Linked DNA regions of Homo sapiens: regions 2 and 3 are each linked to region 1. The links are contacts of gene promoters, found by promoter capture Hi-C in blood cells and fetal thymus (Javierre and others, 2016). All regions are on one chromosome and are shown on one strand. Each heading gives the region's core, a stretch centred on a gene start or on the middle of the fragment in contact. The rest is flanking DNA. Distances are from core to core; before and after follow the strand shown. Region 1 holds the start of ANKRD6 (ankyrin repeat domain 6). Region 2 overlaps MDN1 (midasin AAA ATPase 1). Region 3 overlaps ANKRD6 (ankyrin repeat domain 6).

What was found. Contacts are between HindIII fragments. The CHiCAGO score rates a contact against its expected background, and 5 or more counts as called.
Region 2: a contact is called between a fragment that was not itself captured here and the fragment with the promoter of ANKRD6 in region 1, in 1 of 17 cell types (M2 macrophages). The highest score is 5.9, in M2 macrophages.
Region 3: a contact is called between a fragment that was not itself captured here and the fragment with the promoter of ANKRD6 in region 1, in 5 of 17 cell types (M2 macrophages, M1 macrophages, erythroblasts and 2 more). The highest score is 8.3, in M2 macrophages.

What each region holds. Positions count from the first base shown.
Region 1 is chr6:89,431,578-89,434,619 of GRCh38, reverse strand. ANKRD6 (ankyrin repeat domain 6) reads right to left here and starts at 1,468. Exons shown (of 16, transcript NM_001242809.2): 1 at 1,245-1,468. It overlaps LOC124901360 (a long non-coding RNA gene), which reads left to right. Exons shown (of 2, transcript XR_007059675.1): 1 at 1-1,203; 2 at 2,033-3,042. RefSeq lists a silencer at 1,197-1,676. The HindIII fragment of the contact is 1,573 bases long and covers 668-2,240 here.
Region 2 is chr6:89,666,915-89,669,956 of GRCh38, reverse strand. It overlaps MDN1 (midasin AAA ATPase 1), which reads left to right. Exons shown (of 102, transcript NM_014611.3): 84 at 1,806-1,943. The region is part of intron 1 of MDN1-AS1 (MDN1 antisense RNA 1); the gene reads right to left. Among named protein-coding and RNA genes, the nearest start is that of LYRM2, 30 kb to the right of the region's middle. RefSeq lists a silencer at 1,453-1,747. The HindIII fragment of the contact is 2,482 bases long and covers 357-2,838 here.
Region 3 is chr6:89,625,269-89,628,310 of GRCh38, reverse strand. ANKRD6 (ankyrin repeat domain 6) reads right to left here. Exons shown (of 16, transcript NM_001242809.2): 14 at 615-728. Among named protein-coding and RNA genes, the nearest start is that of MDN1-AS1, 12 kb to the left of the region's middle. The HindIII fragment of the contact is 5,002 bases long and covers 1-3,042 here.

The sequences.
Region 1 (3,042 bases), core at 219-2,718:
AAATAAAAAAATTCAAAATTAGCCAGGTGTGGTGGTCCCAGGCTGAGGTGGGAAGATCGGTTGAGCTAAGGAGGTCAAAGCTTACAGCCTGGGCAACAGAGCGAAACTCTGTCTCAAAACAACAACAACAAAAACCCCGCCAAGGCTGCTATTGGTGTTTTGGGGATGAGAAACCCCCAATCAGTATACCATGGATGGGACCACCTTGGACCCAGGTGTGTTTGTCTTCATTGCCCAAGTTCTTTCCACTTACACTGGCCTAACAGAACCTAAGCATGAATGAATTCAACATCCAACAGGTTCGCAAAAGGTGTCTAACACACAAGAGTACAATGCCAAGCATTTCATTCCCATCACTTCACTGCATGAACACAATACTACGAGGTTATGTACAATACCTGCAGTTTAGAGTTCTAAAAACTAAGGTTTAAAGAAGTGGGTTTTCCAAAGTCACACACCTAACAAGTGGTGGAGTCAGAACTCCATCTCACGGGCCCGAAGTGGCTCTTTACTACCACGTGACCCATCTCATGCTACCTCGCGGGGGAAACATTCTTGACCAGCTTTGAGACATTCAAGTCCCTCTTGGGTCACAAATAATGCTGCACTTCCCCTCCAGTCCCCGAGATCTACCGGAAGCAACACACTTAAAAGCCCAAGATAAGCTTGGGTGAGCTGATGTCTGGACCCAAACCAGACAGCACGCCGACTCTCTGGACCCCGGGAGATGCCACTTGCTGAGGCTTCGCCGATGGGGCTCCTGAGGGGTATCGGCCCCTCTCCTGCGACTGCACCCTAGTGCTGTCGTCCAGGGCGGGGAGGGACGGGGTCATTCGGAGGCGGCCGCAGGCCAGGGACCTACCCTCCTACGCGCCGCAGACCGCGGGGTACTCGGACCCCCGCCCCCACCGCCCTTCCTTCAAACTGCAAGCGAGCAGGAGAACGAGGGACGAGCCCCAGAAGAAAGTTCTCCACCTCCCTCGCCCGAAGTTCCATATTCCAGGGAGGCAACTGATGCCAGGCGAAGAGGGAGGCGCCCCGGGGGGACCCCCTCGCGCCGGGCGTTTTCGGAGGCCGCAGGCCAGGGGGCGAGGCGCGGTGTCCGGGTCTCCTCCGCGGGCAGTCGGCGATCCTGGGGTGCCGAGGGAGCAGCGCCCCCTTCCCCCGACAGCGTCCTCCCCGACCTGAGGCGCCCACCCCGGTGTAAGCGGGGGTCCCAGGGAGCCGGCGAGGTCGCCTGGTACCTTTCTCTCCCGCGCCGGACGTCCGCGCCGCAGGGACCAAGGCCGGCGACACGGTGGGGGGCGAGGGGCGAAGACGGGGACTGGCTCCCGCTGGCTCCGGCGGCCCCAGGGCCTCGGCGCCGCCCAGCGCCGTGCCTCCAGCCGCCCGCGCGCCAGGCAGCGCTCTCGGCTCCTGCGGGTTACCTGTGGCCGAGCCCGCCGCGTCCGCCGCCGCAGGGCCCTCTGCCCCGTCCCGCCGGCCCCGCCCCACCCCTGCCGGCGGCTCCTACGCCGGTGCCGCAGCGCCTCCCAGCGGCGAGCCGGGGCACGGCAGGGACCCTCGCGAGAGAGAGGTGGCACCGCGGAGGCCCTGGGGCTGGCCCCGATCTGCAGCCCTCTCCTGGGTGGGGCCACCGCCTTCTGAAGAGTGGGAGGAAGGGGGCCTATAGTAGGGTGAGGTTTTCCGCGTGGGGGTTGCCAGGAAGTGTATTGGGAGGGGAGGAGAATTAGCAGGAGGAACCTCCCACCTTCACTCAATTCGTGGCCAAGTGGATATTTCAATATAACCATAGCTCACTTAACTGGGGCTGCTCAGTACAAACTGAACAACAATGATGAATGACCCAGATTTATTGGGGTAGCTGGAGAGGGGAAAGGAAGCCTTTATTTCTAACAGCTTGACTATAAGTATCTTGTTGGAATCATCCCATATGGAAATGGCAAAAGCATTGAGCGAGCCTGACCCCCATATTCATATCACACTTTACATACCATTATCTCAGTCTGGTTTTGTCTATTTTCATTCACAGCCACTTCTTCAATACCTAGAAGAGCTCCCTGAACACAGGAAGCATTCAATAAGCTACTGTTGAATACATGTAAGATGGATGGGATCTCATTCCACCCTTTGAAGAAGCATGGACAGGTATCTGCTCTCCAAAGGCGGAGAGATGGAAGAGGAGGCAAGCAGCACCCTAAAATGGACTATCAATCTTACCTGAGGTTTTGGGACAAGCTTATCACGAATCTGATTTTTTTTTCTTTCTTGCTTAAAATTTTTTTTTGAGACGAAGTCTCACTCTGTCACCCAGGCTGGAGTGCAATGGCACCATCTAGGCTCACTGCAACCTCCGCCTCCCAGGTTCAAGTGATTCTCCTGCCTCAGCCTCCTGAGTAGCTGGGATTACAGGTGCCCGCCACCATCCCTGGCTAATTTTTGTATTTTTAGTAGAGATGGGGTTTCACCATATTGGTCAGGCTGGTCTCGAACTCCTGACCTCGTGATCCTCCAGCCTCGGCCTCCCAAAGTGCTGGGATTACAGGCATGAGCCACTGCACCCAGCCGACTTTTCTTATTCCCTCTGAAACAGGCCTGGTTTCCAGGAGAAAAGAAACATGATGATTTCTTCCTTTTCCTTAAGATGTTTGTTTCCCTCTCTCCTTCAGGGATCATTAGGCAGGAGAGATCCCAAGAGCCTGTTTCCACACTAGGAAGGGGAAGTTCTTGATTTTCTCCTACTGCTTCTGAAATTTTCCCAACCCCATAGTCACAGCTGCAGTTTTACCTAACAGGATGTGAAATCTCTCTTCTGAGTATCCTTTGGCCTTTTCCAGACTTTTTTTTCCCCCTTAAGATGGGGCCTTGCTGTGTCACCCAGGCTGAAGTGCAGTAGCCCACTGCAGTCTTGAACTCCTGGGCTCAAGCAATCCTCCTGCCTCTGCCTCCTGAATAGTTGGGATTACAAGTGTGCACCACCATGCCCAGCTAATTTTTTTATGTTTAACACAGAGGAGGTCAAGGCTGGTCTTGAACTCCTGG
Region 2 (3,042 bases), core at 348-2,847, 240 kb before region 1:
CTGGGATTACATGTGTAAGCCACTGCGCCCAGCCAGTTTTTTTCTTTAGCAGGGAAGTCATTTGTTCATTCAGCCATGTACCCGGTATTGTGAAAAGCACTGAGGTTGTAGAGATTGTAGACCCTCCCCTTGAAACTCAGGGGCAGTAGACAGTGAAATCTAACAGCAACATGGTGTGGGTAGGTCTAGTCATAGAGATATCCAGCTCTCGGTCTCTCTTAACCTCACCAAGCCTCAGTTTCCTCATTTGTAAAATGAGATCTGCCTATACTAATATGCATTTTTGTGAGAACCACCTGCATTTGAGTATATAAGTTTTGTTTTTGTTCTTAGCATTCTAAGATTTTCTCCAAGCTTAATACAGATGAGATGTACTTGAGGAAGATATGAATTTACAAACTGAAGATGGGGTCTAGATTTCTTATAAACAATTAAGAGTTCTTAGTTCCGAGTCTCTGAAATACTGGAAAGAGGTAAAAAGTGGAAGCCAAGCCTAATGCCTTGTATCAAGAGGATAAATATGTTTATCTGTAGTAATGATAAGTAACAGTAATAATAATAATAATAAAAAGTAATAATAAGTAAAAGAATGAGTCTCAGGTTTCTCCGCCTCTGGTGGGCACCAGGCCAGCCTTAACATTCCATTGCTTCTTGGAGAAAACACTGTATACTAAAGATAGTGGCAGGAAAATGTGTGGTTCGGGTGCCTTGAGATTTGGCTCAGCTGGATTTGTCCATTTGTACCGTAGCTTTTGTCTGACAGGCTGTAGAATGACTTTGGCCTTTCAAACCTTTGTCTGTTGCGGGTAGGAATGGTTCTGATATGTGCAGAATGTTGGGAGCCCTGTGGCTATCCCAGACGTAGCAGCTGCAATGATATACTCTGGTAAGGGCATCTGAAACTCCCTCCTATGTGGTCGTATTCTTTGTCTATTTCTGAATGTCTCTCATTTAAATAATGTAGTTCAATGGGAAAATTAAGCAAGTAAGCCAAACTGTATTTTCCTATCAACATTCTGAGAATATATGTCCTAAAAGTGGGTTTGGCTTGTTAAAAATTTTTCTAAGTGTCCAAATTGTATTCATATCTTTTCTGAGTAGTTCAAGGGAACTTGAGAGTAGGTTAGACAGTGCTAAGATAATAGATCTAGGCTGTAATTAAAGCTCTTGATCCGCAGGAAGCTGTTTCTGTGTAACCAAGTCATAATTAGTGTTTACTGGTTTGGGATCTTAATTCCTTGCTAATTAGCAGCTTATTTTTTTGTGCATTCCCATCCTCAGATATATCTTCATAGTATATATTTTCTCTTACAAAATTAAACTTTCTGATTGAGAGTCACTACTACTTTTTCTTTTTACTTCTGCTCAGCAGGCTAGTATTCTTCTCAGGTTATTTTCCTGTATAAAATAGTTTTTTTCAACATTTCACAGTTATTACTATGTCTGACTGTGTTCTCTCCAGAGCCTGTTCTGCCCTTACTCAAGGACTTTTTCCAAAATACTGTCCTTCTAGTATACTTCATTTAGGTTTTTGTCTTGGCAAAGTGACAAATGACCACATGCCAGAGGCTTCTACAAAGTCAAGTCATATGTTAAATCTGATGTCAAGCTGTGAAACTGCATAACTATTAGCACCAAAGAGGAGAAGAATGTCAGAAGTCTCCTGTACTTCCAGCGGATTTAAGATAATGAGCTAGAAAAAGAATTCAGTATGTGTTTAAATTGTTTTCCTGTGGCAAGAATGAAATCTCCTTTTAAAATTGCTTTTGTGCCTAATTGTTCACTTCCTTTTTCTTTTTTCTAAGGGATTTTGCTTGCCCAAAGAATTTATGGAAGATTCAGCTGGAGAGGGAGCAACTGAGTTCCATGACTATGAGGGAGGTGGAATTGGAGAAGGCGAGGGCATGAAGGATGTGAGTGACCAGATCGGAAATGAAGAACAGGTACGTTTTCACATAGGTATACAGTTGACAGAAGATCACTCTCTTTCTTTTCAACATGTAAGTTACACATAAAAATGGTTTTTACTAGGTTAATAATTTTTAATCTGTGATCTACAGAGCCCTAGATATATTGGTGCTTCGGCAGTGGGTGTAAATAAAAAGCCTAAAATCCACAGGAAGGAACCTGGCAACTCCATCATTGGTTTTGGCTATAATTATGGAGGAAATGATTTTTACTTTTTTTTTTTAAATGGGCAGATATTTACTGATGATTTTCTAGAGTATTTTTGATAGTATTTTTAAGCATAAAAGGCCTGGCTATCTTAAGTGATAATTGCATTAAACAATAATGCCAAAATTTGCTGTTAATAGGTTTTACTGTTGTATATCTTTAAGGCATAGAGTGTTTTAAAAAATCTGTATCCTTTTTTGGTTGGAATCAAGCAACCTTCTGAACTATTCAGATGCTGTGAACTAAGATTGTTACATTGCTTGGATTTTTTAAATGCCTGTCTCATTTGTGAGTGATTTATGTGTATTGGGTGTATCACTTATATTCTAAGTTAAATCAGATCAGAAACTTGTATTTAAGGTAATTTTATAGTTATTAAAAATAAAGGAGAAAACCAATTCAAATTCCCTCCCTTCCTTGGCAGAGAAAACTGGAAAGCAATTAAAAGCCAAAAGAATAATGCTAGTATTTATGTTATGGAGCTCTAATTTTTTTTTTTTGGACCTATATTGTCCTTAGATAATTGCTTTGTTATTTTGGCCTTCTGTATTTCTCAAATCTAAATCAGTGTATACTACTTTTCTAGTAGAAAAAAAAAGTCAAAAGCAAAAGCAAATCTAATAGAAAAGTTCACACAAAAAACATTACATGGAATAAAAAGCTTCCAGAACAATTTGGTAGTGTCTGCTGAATTTTAAATTATGTGTATTCATTGACCCCCAAATTCCATGTTTTCTTATAGAAATGCTAGTGTCAAAGATAAATAGGTATATGAGTGTGTATATATGTCTACACATGGATATTTACTACAGCATTATTTATATGGTGAAAATTGTGAAACAATCCAAATATTCATCAGAAGAGAAT
Region 3 (3,042 bases), core at 390-2,889, 190 kb before region 1:
ACAGCCTGCAGAACCATAAGCCAAAGAACTCTCTTCTTTACAAATTACCCAGCCTCAGGTATTCCTTTATAGCAACACAGACAGATTAAGCCACCTTCCTATAGGCCACAGCAGGCACCCAAGCAGAGAGCTATCTACAATCTTCATTAAGTGACTAGAGCCACCTTAAACTCAACCCCCAAAACCACCCAAATCTTCCAAACCAAGTACTTCTGGTTGCTTAGAAAGCCTGAGTTCTCACACACTCACTGTACTCATTCCATGTCTCTTATCTTGGTGAGACAGTAAACTCCCTGAGGGTAGAAACTATGTCTTGTTCTAAAACTGTAATGGCCTAACAATGCACAATACATGGAATGAGTTCAGGACAGAAATGGCATCTTCCCCAGCATGTTCGGTCTTCATCTGTTGCCAGCATATTCAGCCACGGACATAAACAGAACTACAGGTTCTTTTCTATTAACCTCATTTCAGTATCATAAAAATGATACACTATATAATGTAAAAGCTCTTAGGGAGTCTCAGCCTCTGAGTTTTCAGTGGCAGGCCTGCCTGAGCTCAGTGGGCCTGTGTGGTAAATCATAAGTTAAGGACTAGCAGATGCTGGTTCCTACCTGTCGTTTCTCCCCCTCATGCTTCTCTGTGTCTGAGTGCTGTTGCAGGCGGTTCAGGCACTCCGTCCTCTCTGCAGAAAGTCGCTCAACCATCAGCTTGTCCAAAACACGCATCTAGGAGTGAAGTGGAGCAGAGTGTAAGACTGAGATGATCTCAGGGTGAGCCCTGGCTTCTCAGCTCCTGCAGAGGGGCTTGGGGAACCAAGTAGGAGCCCCTGCATGCAAACTTCAACCCCTTATCTGATTCCATTTGCATGTAGGACTCATGGAACTCTTTCAGAATTCTTGAGCATGTTTCTATGAGGCCAACGTTTCGTTTTTTAAAAAATCTTATTTGTTAAAGTTTAAGAGGTATAAGGACTATGAATATACAGGCCAGGCGTGGTGCGCCATACTCCCACCACCTGAGGTCAGGAGTTTGAAACCAGCCTGGCCAACATGGCGAAACCCCATCTCTACTAAAAATACAAAAATTAGCCGGGTGTGGTGGCACATGCCTGTAGTCCCAGCTACTTGGGAGGCTGAGGCAGGAGAATCATTTGAACCTGGAAGGCAGAGGTTGCAGTGAGCCAAAAAAAAAAAAAAGAGAGAGAGACTCTGAATATCCAGTAAATACACAACCTGAGCCCATGCAGGCCTTGTAGGCCTTAAAACATTATTTCCCAGACTACTGTAAGAAAAAACTACATCTCAAAGTATGGAGATTTTTCTCTTCCCCAACCCCACTTTAAAAAATGTTAGTGGTTGCCTACAAGGCAGTAAAATGAGCTTTTATCCGGCTCTTGCAGTGAGCAAATATTTTTGGTGCTTCATTGGAAGTAGCTAAAGTACGTAAGAAGAGTGTAGAAGGAACTTAAAGGATTGCTTCAGAGAACAAGCAGTTGTCACTTTTTAATCACATGCCCTTCTGGAGTACCCTTCATCTTGGCATTTCCTGTGGGACCCCTACACCTAGGAGGGCCAAACTTTCACTGCTTTGACAAGGACCAAAGAATGAAAGGAACTATTGTTAGGAAGAGCCAATCCGCGAAGGCTCACTGGTGAGCTCCCCTCCTGTCAGGGACACACGTGGCATTCCACACCCAGATGTTCAAAACATTAAGAAAAAAGAAACATCCGTTCTGGAGACGTGGTGAGCACCTTCTGTTTTTCTCTTCAGTCCATGTTTTCCTGTGACCTGTGCTCCTCCTGTTTTCTAGGATTGGCCTACTCTCCCCACTCCCTTAACCTCTTCCTCCAGGTGGCTGTTTTCAAGAGCAGCCATAGGTATACATTGCTTTGTTCACAGGTCACACTAACTGGCTCGGGTATGAGCATCTGACTCAAGGGTGCCACGGTCCTTTCTTGGTGATTTGGAAGGAGGACTAAGATTCTACACCCCAATCTGTCACTCCCTTGAACTGAAGTGAGGCCCTTGAGGTATCCCAACATTCATCTCTCATTCCTCTTTCAGCTTAGGCTAGGCGAAGTGGGGTTTTTATATACAAAACAGTCTTCACTAATCTATTATTGACCTAAGAAAATATTTTTAAAATGGCCTTTCTATAAAATACAGATAGCAAATAAGCCTTAAAAATGTTTCATCTTACCAGTAAACAAGGAAATAAAACTTAAACAGTAAAATGTCCTTAATCAATTTGGCAAAAACTTTTTTAAAAAAAGGGCAGGGCATGGTGGATCACACCTAAAATCCCAGCACCTTGGGAGGCCAAGGCAGGCGAGGCGCTTGAGCCCAGGAGTTTGACACCAGCCTAGCCAACGTGGTGAAACCCCGTCTCTACCAAAAAAATACAAAAATTAGGTGGGCATGGTGGCGTCCGCCTTAGTCCCAGCTACTCAGCAGACTGAGGTGGGAGAATCGCTTGAACCCAGGAGGCAGAGGCTGTAGTGAGCTGAGATTGCCACACTGCACTCTAGGTGACAGAGTCAGACCCCATCTAAAAAAAAAAAAAAAAAAAAGTTGTAACAAATACTATTTTACGAAAACCGAGAAAATCTGAATATGGGCTGGATAACGTTTTCTCAGGTGTGAAAGCAATATTGTTATGAAGTTGAAAGTGTTATTCTTATTCTAAACATTCTGAAATATTTAGAGATGCCCTGTCAGGACAGTCTGCAACTAAATCTGAAATAGTTCAAGAGTTAAAAAAACATGTGTGTCAGAGAGACAAGGCAAATGCAGCAACATATTAACTGGCTGACTACAGGGATTATATACAAGCATTCACTCCATTATTCTGTGAACTTTTCTGTATGTTTGAAAACTTTTAAAATAAAAAGTTGGGAAAAGAAAAAAATACATAATTATTCTAATTTTGTATGCAATGGGAAAGGAGTGTAGCAAAAATTGACATATAAAAAGATTGACATATAAAAAAACTCAAAAAAGATAAACTCTAATTTTTTTTTTTTTCTAGACAGAGTCTTG